Regions from separate parts of the Homo sapiens genome. Here regions 1, 2 and 3 are each linked to region 4. The links are contacts of gene promoters, found by promoter capture Hi-C in blood cells and fetal thymus (Javierre and others, 2016). All regions are on one chromosome and are shown on one strand. The core of a region is centred on a gene start or on the middle of the fragment in contact, and the rest is flanking DNA. Distances in the headings are between cores, read along the strand shown. Region 1 has its middle 190 kb from the start of FAM3C. Region 2 overlaps LOC124901733 (a long non-coding RNA gene). Region 3 overlaps ING3 (inhibitor of growth family member 3). Region 4 holds the start of WNT16 (Wnt family member 16).

Evidence for each region. The method cuts DNA at HindIII sites, captures the fragments that hold promoters and counts their contacts. A CHiCAGO score of 5 or more calls a contact.
Region 1: a fragment that was not itself captured here is called in contact with the fragment with the promoter of WNT16 in region 4 in 5 of 17 cell types (naive CD4 T cells, naive CD8 T cells, total CD8 T cells and 2 more); the score reaches 7.9 in naive CD4 T cells.
Region 2: a fragment that was not itself captured here is called in contact with the fragment with the promoter of WNT16 in region 4 in 2 of 17 cell types (naive B cells and total B cells); the score reaches 5.1 in naive B cells.
Region 3: a contact is called between a fragment that was not itself captured here and the fragment with the promoter of WNT16 in region 4, in 2 of 17 cell types (naive B cells and total B cells). The highest score is 8.9, in naive B cells.

Annotation. Positions count from the first base shown.
Region 1 is chr7:121,585,836-121,591,533 of GRCh38, forward strand. No RefSeq gene overlaps it. Among named protein-coding and RNA genes, the nearest start is that of FAM3C, 190 kb to the left of the region's middle. The HindIII fragment of the contact is 2,094 bases long and covers 2,542-4,635 here.
Region 2 is chr7:120,858,128-120,863,385 of GRCh38, forward strand. The region is part of intron 1 of LOC124901733 (a long non-coding RNA gene); the gene reads left to right. TSPAN12 (tetraspanin 12) reads right to left here and starts at 17. Exons shown (of 8, transcript NM_012338.4): 1 at 1-17. The HindIII fragment of the contact is 1,242 bases long and covers 3,302-4,543 here.
Region 3 is chr7:120,956,873-120,961,973 of GRCh38, forward strand. All of the region lies in intron 4 of ING3 (inhibitor of growth family member 3), which reads left to right. Among named protein-coding and RNA genes, the nearest start is that of ING3, 8.6 kb to the left of the region's middle. The HindIII fragment of the contact is 9,620 bases long and covers 1-5,101 here.
Region 4 is chr7:121,325,872-121,331,108 of GRCh38, forward strand. WNT16 (Wnt family member 16) reads left to right here and starts at 3,129. Exons shown (of 4, transcript NM_057168.2): 1 at 3,129-3,516; 2 at 3,696-3,946. The coding sequence starts at 3,422. The HindIII fragment of the contact is 8,913 bases long and covers 1-5,237 here.

The DNA of each region.
Region 1 (5,698 bases), core at 2,339-4,838, 260 kb after region 4:
CATATGTGCACAACGTGCAGGTTTGTTACATATGTATACACGTGCCATGTTGGTGTGCTGCACGCATTAACTCGTCATTTAACATTAGGTATATCTCCTAATGCTATCCCTCCCCACTCCCCCAACCCCACAACAGGCCCCAGTGTGTGATGTTCCCCTTCCTGTGTCCATGTGTTCTCATTGTTCAATTCCCACCTATGAGTGAGAACACGCAGTGTTTGTTTTTTTGTCCTTGTGATAGTTTGCTGAGAATGATGGTTTCCAGCTTCATCCATGTCCATACAAAGGACATGAACTCATCATTTTTTATGGCTGCATAGTATTCCGTGGTGTACATGTGCCACATTTTCTTAATCCAGTCTATCATTGTTGGACATTTGGGTTGGTTCCGAGTCTTTGCTATTGTGAATAGTGCCGCAATAAACATACGTGTGCATCTGTCTTTATAGCAGCATGATTTATAATCCTTTGGGTATATACCCTGTAATGGGATGGCTGGGTCAAATTGTATTTCTAGTTCTAGATCCCTGAGGAATTGCCACACTACTTCCACAATGATTGAACTAGTTTACAGTCCCACCAACAGTGTAAAAGTGTTCCTATATCTCCACGTCCTCTCCAGCACCTGTTGTTTCCTGACTTTTTAATGATCGCCATTCTAACTGGTGTGAGATGGTATCTCATTGTGGTTTTGATTTGCATTTCTCTGATGGCCAGTGATGATGAGCATTTTTTCATGTGTCTGTTGGCTGCATAAATGTCTTCTTTTGAGAAGTGTCTGTTCATATCCTTCGCCCACTTTTTGATGGGGTTGTTTGTTTCTTCATGGAATTGGAAAAAACTACTTTAAAGTTCATATGGAACCAAAAAAGAGCCTGCATTGCCAAGTCAATCCTAAGCCAAAAGAACAAAGCTGGAGGCATCACGCTACCTGACTTCAAACAATACTTCAAGGCTACAGTTACCAAAATAGCATGGTACTGGTGCCAAAACAGAGATATAGACCAATGGAACAGAACAGAGCCCTCAGAAATAATGCCACATATCTACAACTATCTGATCTTTGACAAACCTGAGAAAAACAAGAAATGGGGAAAGCATTCCCTATTTAATAAATGGTGCTGGGAAAACTAGCTAGCCATATATAGAAAGCTGAAACTGGATCCCTTCCTTACCCCTTATACAAAAATTAATTCAAGATGGATTAAAGACTTACATGTTAGACCTAAAACCATAAACACCCTAGAAGAAAACCTAGGCAATACCATTCAGGACATTGGCATGGGCAAGGACTTCATGTCTAAAACACCAAAAGCAATGGCAACAAAAGCCAAAATTGACAAATGGGATCTAATTAAACTAAAGAGCTTCTGCACAGCAAAGGAAACTACCATCAGAGTGAATAGGCAACCTACAGAATGGGAGAAAAGTTTTGCAATCCACTCATCTGATAAAGGGCTAATATCCAGAATCTACAATGAACTCAAACAAATTTACAAGAAAACCCTGTGCTTTTCACCATGGAACTGGAAGACCCACTCGGGGGCGCCTCTTTGTCTCTGTGGGAGAGAGCTATTCTCTTTCTTTCGCCTATTAAACCTCTGCTCTTAATCTCACTTCTTGTGCGTCTGTGTCTCAATTCCCTTGGCATGAGATGACAAACCTCGGGTATTTACCCTAGACAACGACGCCACTTCATTTGTTGTCATATTGGTATTTTCTTTCCCTTAAAAAAGTACAGATTTTTATGTGGGAACAGCCTAAGGACATTTCCCTCTAGCCCTTGTGGCCACATGAGAGCCAGAGTCCCTGCTCTCTGACTGCCAGTGACAGGCCAAAACCTCACAATTCATTGGAGTTCACTGGCTGCTCATTGAATAGAGAATACCCGTGGTGGATTGCTCCCAACAGCAATCATGGTGGGTTGCTAATTTAAATCAAGCCATCAGTGTGGCAGATTTTAAAGCTCCAGATTATAAACACTTGCAGAGTTATAAACTCCAAACCACTGGCCCTGGAGTCAGAGATCAAGCTTCAACTTCTGTCTCCACTGTAAGGTGCATTTGTGCAGACTGGAGACAATTTCTTTACAAAGGAGCCAATAGATGCCTCCCATATATTAAGTAAGGTACTAGGCCCAACATGTTTTGCAATATGGTAGTGTTACAGAAGCCTTGGCTAAATATTAAGAATTATTATTGTAATTCTGGCTTCTTTTAATCCCACATTTACCTGTTTCTCATGTTTCTAGGCTCTTAGTTACTTCTTCCTCTTCTTCCTTTTCCTTTCTCTTTCTTACTTCTATTTGGGGAGGAGGAGTCAATGGCCTTTTCATTTACATAGGTTTTTCTTTCTAGGCCAGAGACTTCATTTTAATCATCTGTATAGACAGTTTAAATGACCTGCAAATAATAACCTAGAAAACTTTTCCCCTGCCATACCCAGGATTAATTTTCCTTCCTATCTAACTTAATGCTAAAGCTATAAAATGGGAAAGAACATGGTTGAGTGACAGAATATTGGATTAATAGAATTCCTTAAAGCTTCAAATCCCTCATTTCACACACAGCAATGTTTCTCATTTTGTCTTACTTTTTGTTGGTTCATTTCTGAGTGCATGGGGATGTTTAAAAACTACTTCTTTATGTGATAGTTGCTTTGGACAGTCACTTCTAAGCCTCGATTGACACTGGAATAGTCTGTATATTACCATCTTGAAGACATGCAGCACTAGAATTTCTTTGGATCCTGGGAAGATTCAACTTCTCTCTTGACTTTTCTCTCCTCTCATAGATAGTTTATCATTTCATATAGATTCGACATTTCTCTTGATTCCCAAATGTGCATATTATTTTGGGTTTCACTACCTAGTAACAGGTGGAGGATGAAAAAATAGCATCTGGATGGATTTTTGCTGTTGTAGATTTGGTGGATAGAAGGAAGAAGTTGAACCATACAAATGTAAACCAAAAATAAAATTTTAAGGTCCTTCAACCATCTGAATAGATCCCTCCTCTTGGCCAAAGGCATTCTAAAGTTAACCTGAAAAAACTAGCTCAAGCCATGATGGGAAAGAGGACTTGGACATGCCTCATTATATCCTCCTCCCCTTTGGAAGTACTAATAGACCAGCCTCTTTAAGTCTGATAAGAAACATTTATAATCTATTATCTTTGAAGCCTGCTACCTGTAGGCTTCATCTGCTGTATAAGACATTGGTCTTCACAATCCCTTATTGTAAGCCAGACATTCCTTTCTATTGATAATAACTCTTTCAGCCAATTGCCAATCAGAAAATTTAAAAATCTACCTGTGACCCAGAAGCCACCCCCTGGTCCCCCACCCCACTTCGAGTTGTCCTACCTTTATGGAGTGAACCAATGTACATGATACATGTATTGATTGGTGTCTCATGTCTCCCTAAAATGTATAAAACCCCAACCACCTTGGGCACAGATCAGGACTTTGTGAGTCTGTGTTACAGGCATATCCTTAACCTTGGCAAAATAAACTTTCCAAATTGTTTAAGGCCTATCTCAGATACTTTTGGTTTACATACCTTAAGAGGATTCAGCAACAGATATTATCTCAGAGGTGCAAGCAAGTACATAGCTCATCGACCTTCCTGAATGCAAATTGGTTTCTACAATCATTTTGTCAGGTATTTTACTCCATGGTGTTAAAGTAGAATTTCCCATAAAACAAAAATAGAACTGCTAGTATTTATAAGCACTTTGAAATAATAATAACTTACATATTTTGTAAGGGAATAGGAATATATACAAGGAGGTAAGGGAATCATGTTGTTTGAATTGATGGATGAATGTAAATATTTTATCACTTTGATGGGTAGATATCAGACAGAGAAATTGTAGATAGATGGAGCAATCTCTATAATGTTTTCTGCATTAACTCAAGGGTGCTGTGCCTCCTTTAGCCTATGGTTTCAGTTTAAATTCTATGTTTGGAAGAAAATAGTGAATATAGCAAATGCAAATTAAATTGATAATGATAAGCATTAAAAAACCCCTCTCATCCTCAGTATGTTATTCAATAATCAGATAGTCTTGCATTAACCGACTTGAAGTTTTTGCAACTATTTCTCATCTGCCAAACTAGTCACAGCAAGAAAACTCATCAACATTCAAGGATTGGATTCCTGTCCCTTGTATTGCATCTTCCCACTATCTAATTCAAAAATTCAAGTTGAATCTTCTTACTGTTTAGTTAAAGTCTGTTTAGTCAAGCTGGCATGTGAAAAAGTGAAGATTTCTATGGTGTTTTGAAAACTGGATTTATGGTAAAATCATTTGTTTTATTTACTCAATCCCCAGAAAAGAAAGTCTAGAAAAAATTCCCTCTGTAGCAGTAGAATTTACTCAAGTTATAAAGCAGTGAGATTAATTATAAGGACATCAGTCCATAGGTTCATTATCACAAGGTTAGTTAATTAATTAATCAATTAGTTAATTGAATTAATTAACTATTTCCTCTCATAGTGAATTTTTTCCTCTCATAGATAATTTATCATTTCATATAGGCATTTTTTCCTCTCATAGATAGTTTATCATTTCATATAGGCAAATACAATGTTCTATAACAAATATTCTACCAAAATAAAATTTTTAATAAAGAAGCTTTGAGGTAGCACAACCTTAAGTTTAAGAGGTAAATCATATGAACAAAACTAAAATGCTTTTGTAGTTAGAAAAATTTTGATGGCTTCTTTGTTACAAACACAAAGCAAGGCAAGGTCAAGTTCAAGGCTCGACTCATTGGCTGGGTAAAGATACAAGGAGCCACTCTTAGATTTAGACAGTTTGTAACTTACATAAACAGTGAAGAGGAGAGTATGCCAAAATTGCCAGCTCCCTGTGATCCTTGTTTTACACACCAGAAAACCAAAAACAAACAATAAAACCCCAACACCACCCAAATCAAAGGGGCTGGATGGCTGCACTGTGAGTCGTGAGGCACCCATAGTTGAGGAGCCAATTCTAGACCACAGAGAAGTGGCCTTATATTCTGCAGCTTCATTCTGAGACGGTGGAACAGAAGGCCCCATACTTCCTCCAAGTCTAGGAGTTGATGAGAAACTCTTGTCATTAGAGTCTCCCAGAGGAGATAGGGAGGTGAGTAGGAGGTGGCTTCAGACCCTCCATCCTCTCTTATTACATGAGGATCACAAGGTGTTCTGCCCAGACACAGGTAAGCTGCAGTTCAAGTGTTCATCTAGATGGATGTGTACAAGACTGCCAGGGTGTCATGGCAAAGTTATCTCCTTGCATCCTTCTTCATAAACAAGCTACATAGAAACTCTGTTCAGGATGACATGATATTCCAGTTTAATAAATTTTAATAAAACTGGAATTTAGACCTGCCTCCGGGTGCTTTTTATGTTGTTTATAACTTTATGGTAACTAATATATAAATATTGCCTCTTTTTTATCCTTACTACAGCTTCGTGACCAGCTTAGTACTTTGAATTCTCATATTTCAAGTTTTCTCATTAACTATCATTATGTTTGTGATCTATGCTTTTTAAAATTTTTAACCAAGTTTGAATTACAGTAAAAATAAGCTTGTAGTATTTATTTCCACACATGCTACCCCAGGTCAGACTTCTCACTAGGGATATTCAAATGAGAAACAGAGTTAAAAACATAAATAAATAAATAAATAAATAAATAAATAAATA
Region 2 (5,258 bases), core at 2,673-5,172, 470 kb before region 4:
GCACAAACTCTCAGCGCATGCTCGAGCCGCTGGCTGCCGGGGTTGGGTCCTAGTGGGTGTTTCTTGTCCCTCTCACCCAGCGAGAGTCCCCAAAGGGACGCTTCACCTCTGCAGGATAGGGTCCAGAAGATAATGCCTAGGAACTTGGGAGAAGTCCGTGCAGTAAATCCCTTTAAAATGGTGGCGTCGAAGGAATGGAGGCTGGGTTATAAGCATAGAGAAGCAGGCTTTTATTATATGATAATATTTGTGTTTGAGAAGGGGGGTGAAGGGGTGGCCCAACCCAATTCCTGCAATGAGAAACTAGTTTTCACAACCTTTATGGAGCCACCTCCTGTGATTTGTTATTAACATGGTGCCCTATGATCCTTCTTATTGCTTTGTTGCCCTCCCGGATTTTTTTTTTTTTAAGTTCTTTCCCACTTTCATAGTGCACTAATAGCATTTACGGAAACATCAGAGTAATCATGTGCAGTCTGACATGCAGAAGAGGAGGAAAGAACATTTTTAACTCTTAGAAGTAACTCAAGCTTTCCAAAATTTCTCACGATAAGATTGTTTTGAGTTAACTGGGTGATTTATTTTGAAATGTGTACATAGTAGTGGATCTTTGGAAAATCTAATTTTTTTAAACTAGAAATTCATGAAGTATTACACAGCAGGAGACCATCCTTCCAAAAGAATCTTCCCTTTTAGAAGACAGAAGTTTCACACTAAATAAAATGCCACTGGATCATATCCTCCACATAAAATGTGGATGTGTTGTGCTATGCCTCACAGTACTGCTCATTTCTAGGATTACTTTTGTGGGCACTGCATGGCAAATAAAACTTCACCAGCAAATATGAATTACCTGGAATACGAGCAACATCTTTGACCTAATAACTGGAGTCCTTGGATTTCCTTGCAGAAAAAAAAAAAAAAAAAAAAATGGAATCCTATGTCCATGACTGCCTGTCTAGAGTTAGTTGCTGCATGACTGGAGTGACAATAAGACATGCAGTCTCATATGGAAAAGTCAAGACCAAAAGACAACATGGTTGTCCTGGGTTAGGCTAGGAAAATTATTGGTAAGCAAGTCACTAAGCAGTATGTAAGACAGCAACCCAAAAGAGTATAAAGAAGTATAGCCATACACAAAAAAAACACCAAGAAACATGTCCAGTTATCCATCAGATGACTCCAACTCTGATAATGAAGCAGCTTCTAGAATACTGGGGAAGAGCAAAGAAACCCACTTTTATCCTCTGCCAGTTTCTTCTCAAATTAGGGTGCATGCCTATTTTAAGCAAAGGACTGCTGAAACAACCAGCCATCCAAATGCTGTTGGTGCCATACATTCCCCGGAGAGGTATAAACATCCCCGCATTGAAAGGAGTCCATGACTGCTATTAAAACTGAGAAAAAGAGTGCCAACAATTCCCATGTGTCAAAGCAGAGATCCTCTTCTACTCCTAGAAGGTAGTTAAGTGCCCTTTCCTTAATTCGTATACCTTTAAGGGTCAACTGCCTTAAAGTAATAAAATACTAGAGGAAGTTACTTTAGAAGTATGCATGTCCTCTTCTTCCTGGTAAACAAGAAATACAGATCCAAGATAAAGTAGTTGCTCAACGTCACATCTGTAGTCCAACCTAGATTCCAAAGTAAAATCCAGAATAATGGCTCTTAGTACTCTAGTTTAATGGTTCTCGAAATTGTTGTACACGAGAATCACTTGGAGAGCTTTGAAACAACCCTAATTCTCTGGCATGCCTGATACCACTTAAATCGGAGTCTCTGCAGGTGAGGCCTAGACACACAGGGTTTTCCAAGCTCCCAAGGTAATTCTAGTTTGCAGCAAAATTTGAAAACCCTGCAACGAGGGCTTTACAGCTGCCTAAAAACTAGCAAAAGGGTCTCTTTAGATTTCGTTGGATCAAATCCCTCTCCTGTGAGTCGATAAATTGGGATTATTATCCCCATTTTACAAGTTAAGAAGAAAACAGAGCTGTAGTTACTGCTCTAATATTCCTGATAAATGGTCATCAGAGACAGTGAATCAACATTTCAGTAGAGGAGACCTCACCACATTTGAGACATTGCAGTAATGGGCAGTTTTTATTGCTTAAACTTGACCATACCACCTTTTAACTTCTACCCTTCAACCTTAGTTCCGCCCTTGGAGTCCATGGCATGAGCAAGCCTTCCTCCCATATGACAGCCCTTCAACTACTTGAAGGCAGCTGTTCTTCCCTCCCTCTCCAATTCTTCTCTTTCCCAGAATTGTGGAAGCACAGTAAGACTTCACATCGCAGCTGTCATTCTGAGGGTTCTATATTTTTCTCTGTGAGATCTGTTTTTTTGTGTGTGTGAACAAAAGGAGGATAGAAATATCATAATATGCACATAAAAATTTGAATATGTAATAACATATTAGGAAAATTGTATGGTCTATTTACTACCCATTAGTCAGGAACCCAATTCTGTGGCCAGGTGTTCTCCAATAAGTATCATTTCAGTGGTGGTATCTACTGTGCCTCATGCTGAAGATACTAAGACAAGTTCTTACCCTCCAAGAAAAGGCAAAACTATCCTTTCTTATTATATAATAATAATAACAATAATAATGACATCAAAAAGTAATAAAATAAGCATTTACAAGGAATCACATACATGTCAGTCCCAGTGTCAGGAGTAAAACTCAGCTATATGTAAGAGAATACAAGTTCCTCACTCCGTATGGCAGCTTGTTTGTTCATATCTTATTCTATTCATTCTGCTAAAGTTGTGGAGAGAAAAAGGATAACACAGGAGTTTGGATGTATGAGTTGCTATTCCTTCTTAGTACAAGACCCTCACAAGTACTCCTAAGCCAGTACTTTACAATTAATATGGGATAGACACCTAATGTGTTTTGAACAAATTACATGTGTCTGACATAATAGGTGCTTCTCACAATTTATCTTATTAATTCCTCATAACTATATGTTGAGATACTTGAAATCAATTCAGATAGCTGATTTTTGCCAGACCCACACAGGTAGTAAATAAAGAAGCTGAGATTCTAAGATCTGTCTGATTCTTTCCACTGTTTATCTGCATTACAATAAAATTTCAAATCTGGTTGGACAAGACTTAAGAGGAAAATTTTCGAACTTTTTAAAGTTAGTTTTCGAGAATATGAAGCTGAAATTCAAATATGTGTACTTAAACTATGACTGGTAAATCTACTTTCACCTCACTTCTAAAAGAGTATACAGACCTAATAAGACCTGAGAAAATCCTTTCATTACTGAATTAAGTAGACTGCTTTCTACTGTAAGCTTAGGATTGCCAGATAAAATACAAGACACCTCATTAGATTTAAATTTCAGATAAACAACAATTTTTTATTTTTTGGTATAGGCATGTCCCAAATGTTGCATGGGACAAATATTGCACTGGACATACATATACTAAAAAATTATTCAATGTCTACCTGAAATTCAAATTGAATTGCAAACCCTACATTTGTATTAGTTGAATCTGGCCTCCCTATGCAAACTAGCAAATGCACTCAAAGAGCCACAAAAACAAATATGTTTCACATAACAATGAGTCCAGGAATAGCGATTCATCTGCCCAGTAGTGATATCAAGGAATCAGTTCTTTTTCCTCCTTACTCTCCTGACACACACAATGAGTAATCATACTATACTCAGGTACCTCCTCTTATGGTCACAAGATGGCTGTGCAAATTCAAGCATCATTTTCAGTTACCATTACTTCCAAAGGAAGAAGGTATTTTCTCCTATGAGTTTCTCTTAGGATCTAGCAAACCTCTCCCAGGAGTTCTGCAGCAGATTATCCCTTTGATTGATTGGCTAGAACCTGGTCACATACTCATATATCTACCAATTATTCACAAGAACTATGGTTCTACCATAACTGGTTTGTTTTGTTTTGTTTTGTTTTGTTTTGTTTTGTTTTGTTTGAGACAGAGTCTCACTCTGTCACCCAGGCTTGAGTGTAGTGGCTCCATCTCTGCTCACTTAACCTCTGCCTCCCGAGTTCAAGTGATTCTCATGCCTTAGCCTCTCGAGAAGCTGGGACTACAGGTATGCACCACCACGTCGTGCTAATTTTGTCTTTGTAGAGACAGAGTTTCACCATGTTGCCCAGGCTGGTCTCAAACTCCTGTCCTAAGGTGATCCACCCACCTCAGCCTCCCAAAGTGCTAGGATTACAGGTGTGAGCCACCATGACTGGCCAGGTTTTAAACCAATCAAGATGTATTACCTGTGCCTGGGACAGCCCTTCTCTAAAGCACAGGGCCAAAGAGAGGAAGGTAGATAACTGAACACAGTCAGATTTTTATTTGAACTGAGGGATAGAGAAAGGAAGGCATAGTACCATCCTCTCTCCTGTTCACTGCTAGGACAACCCAGCTCTCAGCCAACCATTTTGGGGCACTACTTAGCAAAGTTTCTTAGTTATTGAAAGAACCACTGAAGCAGGAACCTCATGGCAATAGCAAAGGACCCTGAGAAAACTCGTATCACATCATTTCCATCCCATGCCATAAGCTTACTTTCAGCATCGTCATTTGCATTTACACACCAGGTAATTCTTTAAAGAAGTGCCCAAATCAGTACCCTCCTATGAAATCCTAGAAAACTTTTCTCTTAAACTTTATTGAAACCTGACCTTCATGCAAAGTTTAGAAATTTGGACTCACTTCACCCACAGATTTAATAAATATTTATTGAATTGTTACTACAAACTCAGAACTGTGCTAGGAGATACCAAGAGTTCTACCATAATTTTGGCTCTCAAAAATTTATAACTTCATTAGCATGCTTCCTCTTCAGAAAGCAAAATTTATAGAATATAAGAGATCTTTTGTCCAGACTTGGTGGCTCATGTCTGAAACCCCAGCTCTTTGGGAGGCTGGGCCAGGAGTTGGAGACCAGCCTGGGAAACATAGCAAATCCCATCTCTACAAAACATAAAAACAATTATCCAGATGCTGTGTGCCCACCTGTAGTCCCAGCTACTCAAGAGTCTGAGATGGGAGGAGCTCTTCAGCCCAGCAAGTCGAGGCTGCAGTGAGTCATTATTGCATTGCTGCACTCCAGCCTTAGCAACAGAGCAAGACCCTCTCTCTCTCTCTCTCTCTCTCAAACAGCAACAACAACAACAATAACAAAGAACTCTTCTCTTAATTTTCAGTTATTTGAAACAAAATGTAAGGAAAAGGAAGGAATACACGTCTATTTACAAACAGCTGCCAATTTCT
Region 3 (5,101 bases), core at 2,258-4,757, 370 kb before region 4:
TCTTTGTTTTGTTTATTATTTTGTTGTTTTATTGCTTGTTAGACCTTTACTAAAGATATTTTGTGTATTTAGAAAAAATATAACATAAATATATGCTTTTTAAATATGTGTGTGTGTGTATTCATCTCTTATTTAAAAACCACACTGTTCATCCACTCTGTGCCTGAAAAAAGGGAGCTGTACCTGGGTCTAATGGAGGAATAAAAAGTAAATACTAGGCCGGGCGCAGTGGCTCACGCCTGTAATCCCAGCACTTTGGGAGGCCGAGGAGAGTAGATCACGAGATCAGGAGATCGCGACCATCCTGGCTAACATGGTGAAACCCCATCTCTACTAAAAATACAAAAATATTAGCCGGGCCTGGTGGCGGGTGCCTGTAGTTCCAGCTACTCGGGAGGCCGAGACAGGAGAATGGCGGGAACCCGGGAGGCGGAGCTTGCAGTGAGCAGAGATCGCGCCACTGCACTCCAGCCTGGGCGACAGAGAGCGACTCTGTCTTAAAAAAAAAAAAAAAAGTAATACTAGAAATGGCTCTTGTCCTCAAGGTGTCTGTAAACTACTGTTGTGGGGCAGACATACCTGCAAACTAAAGTGGAGAATCCATACAGAAACATGTAATAAACATTAACCAGTTGAATATTAAGGGGTGTCTACTGAAAAACATTGAAGTAAGTCATGCAGAGTTACTTACTGATTTCTTAGAGGGTATAGGAAGAGTTTTGAACAGAGTTTGTTTAGAAAGTCAAGGTCCTGAATTAGGTATTGTATTGAGGGGAAAGCATTTCACTCAGAGATAATGGCATAAACAGAAGGAAAGTACAAATTCAGAAATTAATTGAGAAGGGATAGATTCCAAGGCTAAAGAGTGAAGTAATAAAGGCGAGGTAGTAAATTTAATAAAGCATAAGAAATACAACAGAAAGCAAGTGTCCATAATGGATCCATGCAGATGTGAGTTCAAACCCTAGCTCAGCCATTTCACTGACACCATGACTTTGGAAAAGTTATTTAATCTTGAACCACAGTTTCCTGCTGTAAAAAAGCAATATTAATTTATACCTTACTGAAGGGTTTGCATTAGAATACATACAATGCTATTAGTTTGGCAGATAGTAGGATTTGCTCCTTCTTTAAGAACTCAGTCCATCTCATTTCCTGAACTGGAATTTTCTATTTTCCTGAAGCCACTGCTTCCCTTTCAACTCTGCCAAGTGGAAGCTGCTGTCTCTCACTCTCCTAGTATCTCTGAGGCTTCTTTTTGTCTTTTCTTCTTTTTCTTCCCCCACCCTTTCTTTTCTGCCCCCACCTTTGCTCTACCCTCTTCCTTTTTATTATTTTTTTTCTTTTTCCCTTTCTCCTTCCCTGCCTTTCTTTTTAAATACTTTAATCCTATTTCAGGTGAACATTATATCCTTAATATAAAAAATCCCTTCTCTTTCAGACTTAGTGATAATCATCTCAGTTACCCTCTGCCTCTTATCACTATAATTTAATGGCTTCTAGGTGAGGCTCAGATTGAAAAACTGGTACCCGGTTCACAGTTCTCTGTTGCAATCATCTTATACTACCTAGTCATCTACTTCTTTGGCTTTTGTAAATGCTAATCCACTTCAGTCGCCACAGACTGAACCTGATCATCACTTGGAATTGCCCTGCCTCTGATACTTCTTGCGTCTACACTTCCTCCTATTTTATCAGCCCTTTCCTATTCAATCAAGAGACTGGTTGAGCTCTTGACCACTTTTCTTACAGGTACCTTCCACATTGTTGCTGCCTTAGGGCATGTTTTTACTTGCTGCATCTTTGCTTCATCACTTATGCCTTCTCTTTTTCATCTTTAGCCTCTTTTCTTTCTATTGGCTTCTATACCACAGCATTTAAACATGCTCAGGTCTTCCTCATATTTAAAAAGAACTCAGGCAATCTAATATAAATCGTGTCGTGACCGTGACTCTGCTTTAGCTAGTGTAGTCTTCCTTAATTTCTCATTCAGACTCTTTGACACTCCCTTACCTTCAATTTATTCCTAAATTTATGGCAATTGGGGTTCTATTTACTAATCCTCTATAACTTCATTTAATGAATTCTTTATTGCTAAATTCATCAGACAGCTTCAATTCTTTTTAACTGACCCTATTGGTAAATTTAATGCTTATTGCCATTCGTTTTGTCTTGCCATTCTTGACCTTGTATTACCATGTGACTGCCTGCTCTAGATGCTCCCACCTTTGTGACCTTTCTTAGTCTCCTTCTTGGGTACAGCTCATAATGATGGTGTTCCTCAGGGTTCTGTCCTTGACCTACATGGTTTCTTACTCTTCAAGTGGTTCTCACATGAAGGTGATTGTCTTCCCCTCTTCTACCTGCCAAGAGGGCCAGGAAGAACAAATTCCACAGCGTAAAGACCTGTTCTTTCAAATGCAAGTTTTATCCCCAACCTTTGCACACCACCCAAGTTGAGAGACACTCCTCTATTGCAATTCCATGTGTTCTCTTAGTGTTAACAATTATACGTTAATTATTCCTGAAGCCCAAGCTGTTTCTTTGAGTCTTTTAATCTTAGCTGACTATTCCCAGGCCCTAGAACTCAGTGTTTTGAAATTTAAAACTCAAAGCATCTCCTTTTTCTTCTCTAACTACCCTCCCCTGCCCCATCACCAACTTTTTGTTTCTAAATCTCACATGAACCACACTGACCTTGTAGTCATTCAGATTAGGGCACTGAAAGTCACCCTATACTCCTTGTCACTTCCTCACATTTTTTTTTTTTTTTTTTTTTTTTTTTTTTTTTGAGACGGAGTCTCACTCTTTCGCCCAAGCTGGACTGCAGTGGCGCTATCCCGGCTCACTGCAAGCTCCGCCTCTTGGGTTCATGCCATTCTCCTGCCTCAGCCTCCCGAGTAGCTGGGATTACAGGCGCCCACCACCACGCCCGGCTAATTTTTTGTATTTTTAGTAGAGACGGGGTTTCACCGTGTTAGCCAGGATGGTCTCGAACTCCTGACCTCGTGATCCGCCCGCCTCGGCCTCCCAAAGTGCTGGGATTACAGGCGTGAGCCACCACACCTGGCCTGGCAAACTATTAAATAAAGACTATTTTAGATTTCGATAAGTACACAGGAGGAAATAAACATTGTAGAAAGAGAGGAAGGGGGAGAAAGGGAGAGACAATTGAATAACTGGCGAAGGCTGTTAAGAATGTAGTCTAAGGAGATGACGTTTGAGGTGGTACTTGGAAAATAAGAAAGAACCACCTGTTGGAAAAGCTAAGGAAAGAATGTTTCAGGCACGTGGTATACCAAGGGCAAAGTTTGGAGTGGAAAAGACTTGGCAAGTTGAACCAAGAGAGAGGCCGGGGTGGTTGGTCTGTGGTCTGTAATGGGAAAGGAGCAGCATGAAAGGAAGCAGGCAGGAGCTAATGCATGGGGGCCTTGCGAGCCAGTCTAGGAGGAGAGTGATTCTTAGTCTAAAGCGGTGGGAAGCCAGTGAAGGACTTTAAACAGAGGCGTGGAATATAGACCTTAAAAGAGATTTTGTGTAGGTATGCCTTTGCTTAAACATTATATTATAGGAATTTTAAATAAGCATGTATTACTTTTACAGAATTTATGGTACATCACCATAGTATGCAATTATGTTTGATTTTATCCCTCAGTGTTTTATATGGCGTTGCATTTTGTTGTATTTTTTCATTGAAATATTTTATTTACTTTTAAACCAGTAGTAAACATTTTTTTTCCTGTGACCATCACTGCACTGGTCACCTCATTTATTAAGGAATAAACCAAACTACATATTATCAACATATTATCAATGAAGAAATTTGTTTTAGGGTTCCGGTAGAAGAAACTGACAGTTTATTTTAGTAGCCGTTTTAGTGAAATTTGACTAACACACACAAAAATCTATCCTGTTAAAATAGTTTTGTTCTAGAAGCATGATACTCATAAATAGTTGTTAAATACTTATTTGTGTTTCTCAGCCAGATGTCACTGTCATAAGGATGTATTGGATTGCAATACCTAATAAAGTTGATTTATACATACCCTGATAAAATTTGAGCTTTTAGTTAATGCTTGAATGATTTTAGCAGTCTCTTGCAGTGCTCAATACCCTTGAACTTGCTTCTTTTTTTATATCCTGGCCTGTTCCTGAGATGGTTATATTTCAGATGCACATTTTACCTATAAATTTGAGAGTTTTCATCTGATACTCTAATTAAGGAAATATGTGAGTTTGACCTTTTGATTTCTGTCCTGTCCTTATTGTCTTTCAGGAAGATGATTAGACAGAGTTATATGCTAAGGCCTCTCAAGTATTTGTTTCAGCATAACAATAGGTCACATTTTCATCTAGTTTAAATCTAATTTAGAGATATAAAGAATCATTTTCATGACCTGTTATCTGAGAAATACTTTGCTATCATGGTTTCTTCTTCTTCCCCAATTTACCCTCTTTACTCGCTATTACTAGACCTTTTCATGGTTAGAAATTTAACTTACTGCTGTCTATTTCAACTTAGAATGTAACAGACTTGATTGCCTCTTCCGATAGGGCAAGCTAGACATCTAAATTTTATAAATTGATTGTATTGGAAGCAGTAGATCATGTAGAGACTTTAAAAAAGCTGTATTTAGTTTTGTTTGGGTCCATTAGTGATACACTTTAAATGTGAATATTAGAAAACCAGAGAGTCAAAAAAGAAAGAGTCAAAGATTACAACTCTATGCAAATATTATAGGATGAAGGATTTTTTGTTTGTTTTGTGCAGAGGGGCCAAGTATGACTTAAATTTGCTATGATCATGAGTGTGTTAACAAGTAATGTTGGTAGAATATCCTTTGTCTTTAAAGAGGCTAGAAAAATTATAGGAGTTTAAACTTAAAGCTGTTATGATTTGGGGTTGTAGAATATGATTTGGGATTATAGGGCAAGGAAACTTTGTTTATAGCACTTGTTGACATTAACTGGGAAAAAAAGAAATAATTAGACTCTGTGGTTAGCCCTGTTTTAGGAATCTGTGGCTAATGGAAAATCTCTCAATTGGATCAGTACCCTCTTTACTATTGTAAATCAGTCTTATGAAAGCAGATGTTTGTGG
Region 4 (5,237 bases), core at 1,879-4,378:
CTCTACACAAAATAAAAAATACAGCTGAATATAACGGTGCACACTTGTAGTCCCAGCTACTCAGGAGGCTGAGGGTGAGGATCGCTTGTGCCTGGGAGTTGAGGCTGCAGTGAGTCATGATAGAGCCACTACACTCCAACCTGGGCAATAGAATGATACCTCATCTCAAAAAAAAAAAAAAAAAAAAAAAAAAAGGAGGGGCCTCTAAAGGTTGATTGTTTTTGAGTAACCTCGAGCAAGTTTCTTAATCTCCCCAAATTAATTTCCTCATCTGTAAAGTGAGTATCAATTTTGTATAGAGAAAGATGGAGAATGAGACAGAGACAGAGAGACAAATAAAGACAGTAAGAGGGATTTGGGAGTGTATGGCAGCTCTCAGAACATGAAAGTTCACAATGCCTGGAACAAAATTATCATTCAAATATCTGTTCACTGAATGAAAAATCTGCTTCCTCAGCTGGGTCAGCTCCTAGAAATATGTCTCCTTTGTTTTGGAGATATGGACAGAATGACCCCTAAGGCTCTAGCCCATACAAAAGAGATGCAAGACCACTCACGCCCTAAAATTGTGTCTTGTGTTTGAAAATGTTTGACACAGTGGTCTCTGACTCTCAGGACAGAATACCCTCTGAGTGCACCCCAAAGGCTTTATCTGGATGCGTAGATGGTGCTAGATTCCCAGAATAATAATGAAGGTAACATTCAAGTGTCTCCTCCCCACTCTGATCCCCAAGACTGAAATAAGTAATCTTCCTTTGTGTGTTCACAGCACACTCTACTTTGTACATTTATTGCACGTATTATAGCTGCATGCTCCCTTGTCTGTCTTGCCAAGTAGACTGTGAATTCCATGATCATTTGAGTAAGTGCTATCCCCACTTTCTAACCCATAACAGAGACTCAATATATGTTTTTGATTTTTTAAAAAATCAAACACCTCTTTAAAACATCTACCACCGTTGGCCCTAAAATCAGCCTAAGGTATGGATATTGTCCAGCACCCCCAACCCGGAGATTGCCTCCCCACTTCCAATTCCCCTTGAAATGAAGTAAAAACTGTAGTTCCAGCATTTAGGCCTCTTACATATCCACTCAGGATGTTCCTCATTGTTAATTCACTCAATAAATTTTGTTCAAAAACAGGATCTTATGTACTAGGCCCAATGGCAGGGGTACAGCAATGAATCCGCCATTGTCCCTCTTGGAGAAGCTCACAGAATAAAGTGAGCTTGGATGAAGGCTCTGACTTTCAGAGAGGCCACTAGCCGTTAGCCAAAATATTTCTGGATCAGTATCTACATCCTATCATCAACTTGACTCCTCGACTCTTTAAAATGTGGCTTTAGAACCTGGTACATAGTGTACACTCAATAAACATTTGTTGGATAAGGGAGTGAATGGGATAGGATGAAAATTTCAGTGAGCTTTTATTGCTCACTGATTGATATAGGAGATAAGCAGCTAATGCTATCTAATCCTTTTTTTTTTTTTTTTTTTGAGTCGGAGTCTCACTGTGTGCCATAGGCTGGAGTGCAGTGGCGCTATCTCAACTCACTGCAACCTCCACCTCCTAGGTTCAAGCAATTCTCCTGTCTTAGCCTCCCGAGTAGCTGGGATTACAGGCATGCACCACCACACCCAAATAATTTTGTATTTTTAGCAGGGACAGGGTTTCACCATGTTGGCCATGCTGGTCTTGAACTCCTGACCTCTGGTGATCCGCCCATCTTGGCCTCCAAAAGTGCTGGGATTACAGGTGTGAGCCACTGCACCTGGCCCCAAATCCTTTATTTAAGTAATTTTGGCTTTGGGTACCCACTGAGCTGATACGTCCACCATGGGAATGTATTAACACTTCAAAAGATCTCTAAGGACAGATAATGCTTCTTAGAAACATTTCTTGTGTCTAATTAGGTGAGGCAGGCTTTCCCAATACCACAGCTAAACACGTTGCACTTGCCTTCAGATAACTCTCGGAGACCTTCCATCCTACAAAACACTGATTAACTAACCTTCCAAATCTGCCAGTAACTGGAACACTTCCTGCTTCTGAACTATCTTCGGCTCCAGGGAGTACCCTGCTAGATTCTTTAATCTCTCTTACTGATCATCTAAACGTATTTTCTTTTACACTTGTGTATGGTTTATTTGTACAGTTGTGGGAAGAGAGCTTGTCTTTATAAATTCCCACAGGACTAGGCACACAGCAGGTATTTAATAAGTACGTTTTTAAAAATGTGTCTTCCATGTGTAGCCCTGTCCTGCAGGGACGCATCGGGTAGGTGGCAAAGGGGTGCCCAATCCTAGCGAACTTTCAACTGAGGTTGGGGGAGAAGGGCAGGGACCCTCCCACCATGAGAATCGTAAGGTAGGACTGGAGAAAAAGATCAGAGCACATCTCTCATGTACTCTAGAACTCTCCAGAAACCTCTCACTTTCTTTGTCCCCATCTTCTGCAGGGGACTTACAGCGTTCTCAGGGACTGCAGGAAATAAGACAAATAGGGAAAAGGAAATCACAGAGCACGATTGAAATATGGCAGATGAGATGCTAGACTGGAATCTTCTCTTTCGCTCAAAATAAATGCATACATAAATGACAGTGATTGTAAGCCTGACAGCACTTCACCCACTCTCTAAAGTCTCCTGACAGTGGGACCTCAAGCAGGGGACTGGAAGGTTAATTTGTTCGGTACCAACTCTGACTCAAAAAGATTATTCTCCTGTGAGGTGAAGGAGAAGAAAAAAAGGTCAGTGACATTTTCCAGCCACTACACCCAGAGGGTAACCCAGATGTTGGTGGGATGGGTGGGACTCATCAAACCCACGCTTTCCCCCAAGGTTGCTAAGACAGAGCGTCCTGTTAGTCTTCGGGTTGAATCAACCCCACAACGACCCGTTCTAAGGAGACTGTGACAGCAGGAAAGGTCATGACACACCCAGGTCTGGACACGCTGTCCCTGAGGCCAGTGCCCGGAGCGCCCCCCGCGGAGCCGCTCTCCACCAATAAGAGCCTGAGGTCCCGAGATGATGAGATGCGGGGCCGCTGCTCAGCCAATCAGGCTCCAGGCGCGGCCAGGGGGAGGAGATGGGAGGAGAGGCCGGGGGCGATGGAGACGCGGATACATCAACAGAAGTTTCTCACCTAGGAATGCGAGGGGCGCTCCCGCATCTCCTGCACATCTCCACCCCTGCGCAGGAGGAGATCCCCAGGCTGCTCTCTCCATCTCTCCTACAGCTCCCTGCAAACGAGGGGGAAGCTGCTGAGAGTCCCTATCACTGCTGGCCTTTTAATGTTGTATGCAAGGAGGAAGAGGGCGAGGGATAACTTGGTGCTGGACAACTGACCTGCGGCCCGAAGGGCCTCTGGGGAGGGGGTGCAAAAGAGGAGCGGCTGGGCTGGGGGACTCCATGCGGGGGCGATGGACAGGGCGGCGCTCCTGGGACTGGCCCGCTTGTGCGCGCTGTGGGCAGCCCTGCTCGTGCTGTTCCCCTACGGAGCCCAAGGAAACTGGATGTGAGTATGGAGGTGGCAGGGAAGCATCGGGTAGGTGGCAAAAGGGGTGCCCAATCCTAGGGAACTTTCAACTGAGGCTGGGGGAGAAGGGCGGGGACCCTTAGACGAGTGACCTAATTTTTCGGAAAACATCTGGAATTGGGGAGCGGCTTAACGCTACGGGCGGCCGTGTCTTACAGGTGGTTGGGCATTGCCTCCTTCGGGGTTCCAGAGAAGCTGGGCTGCGCCAATTTGCCGCTGAACAGCCGCCAGAAGGAGCTGTGCAAGAGGAAACCGTACCTGCTGCCGAGCATCCGAGAGGGCGCCCGGCTGGGCATTCAGGAGTGCGGGAGCCAGTTCAGACACGAGAGATGGAACTGCATGATCACCGCCGCCGCCACTACCGCCCCGATGGGCGCCAGCCCCCTCTTTGGCTACGAGCTGAGCAGCGGTGAGTCCTGGGTCCTTAGGGGTTGGTGGGGGACGGAAGGCGACAACTCCTCCACCGGTTCCTGCAAATAAAGTAAATAGTGCTACGTGGTCCTGTAGCTCTCTAAGTTCCAGAAGAAGCCCTTTAGTGCACGGGGATTGAGAGCTACAAAGGCCAGACCTGGGGAGCAGGTGCGAGCCTGGAGGGAGGTGACTCCCCAGTTCCAGAGCGGAGCTCTAGGGGCTGGAGCTCTTCCTCTTTCCTGCGGTGCCCCGCCAGAGTTGGAAAAAAAACTCTAATTCTCCTACCCCGCCGACCCCCTCGGACCCCGTAGCGCCCCCCTACGTGGGTGACCAGCTGGAGAAACATGATGTCGGCAGCGGGGAATGCGGCTGCCGCATCTGCTTTGATTTAACCAACTCCGCTGCGCACCAAACCCCGGACAAGTGGCTAATTGCAGCGAAGCCCCACCTTTATTGGCTCCTAGGAGCACCGAGTTGACAGAATAATGGTGACTTTTAAAGCGACTGTCCGCGACCACCCAACGTGCGGCTAACCTGAGCAGGACCACTTGTGCGCTTCTCGTTTCTTTGGCTTTTCTATCTTTCCCTCCTCGGCGCACTCCCGCGGCGCGGGAAGCTGCAGGAAAACAAAGTTCCACTTCCACGTGCGTAGTGACTTGGTAAGGATAAAGGTACAGGGAGCCAGGATTGTTCCTGGAATATCAACAGATCCAAAGAATGTTAGGACTGGGGCGCTGAAGGATGCGCTGTCGTTTTTCATGTTCATTTCCGTTCCCCCTCCGCCTTTGACCCTTGTCCACGCAGTCCCTGCGCGCACCCCCGCCGAGCCGCGCACCTCCCCCGCGGCGTTCTGGCCGGCACGCCCTTCCGAAGGAGCCCTGGTCCCCGTAGAGAGAAAAAAAAAAAAAAAAAAAAAAGAGACAGAAAGAAAAAAAATAGATGTGTTTTTCACAGTTGCTGAAATGCATCAGCTGTTGAAAAGGTTTATTGGACAGCGGGCATGAAACTGTTTCTACTCCAAACTAAACATCTGGAAAGAAAAAAAAAAAGTCGCCTGCTGATTCCCTTCTAGTCCATGTTATTAATGTTTTAATGGACTTTAATTTTCAAAGATTTTAGCTCAAACTCTACTGCAGGTGTGCTAAATGCATAATTTTCAATATTCAATATTTTTAATAGAATTATGTTTTTGCTAGTGACATTTTAATTATCTTACCTTTCATTGCCTTTAAGACTGTAAGAGGAGTAGCTAATACTATATAAAATGTTTAACTGTTTCATGTTAATGT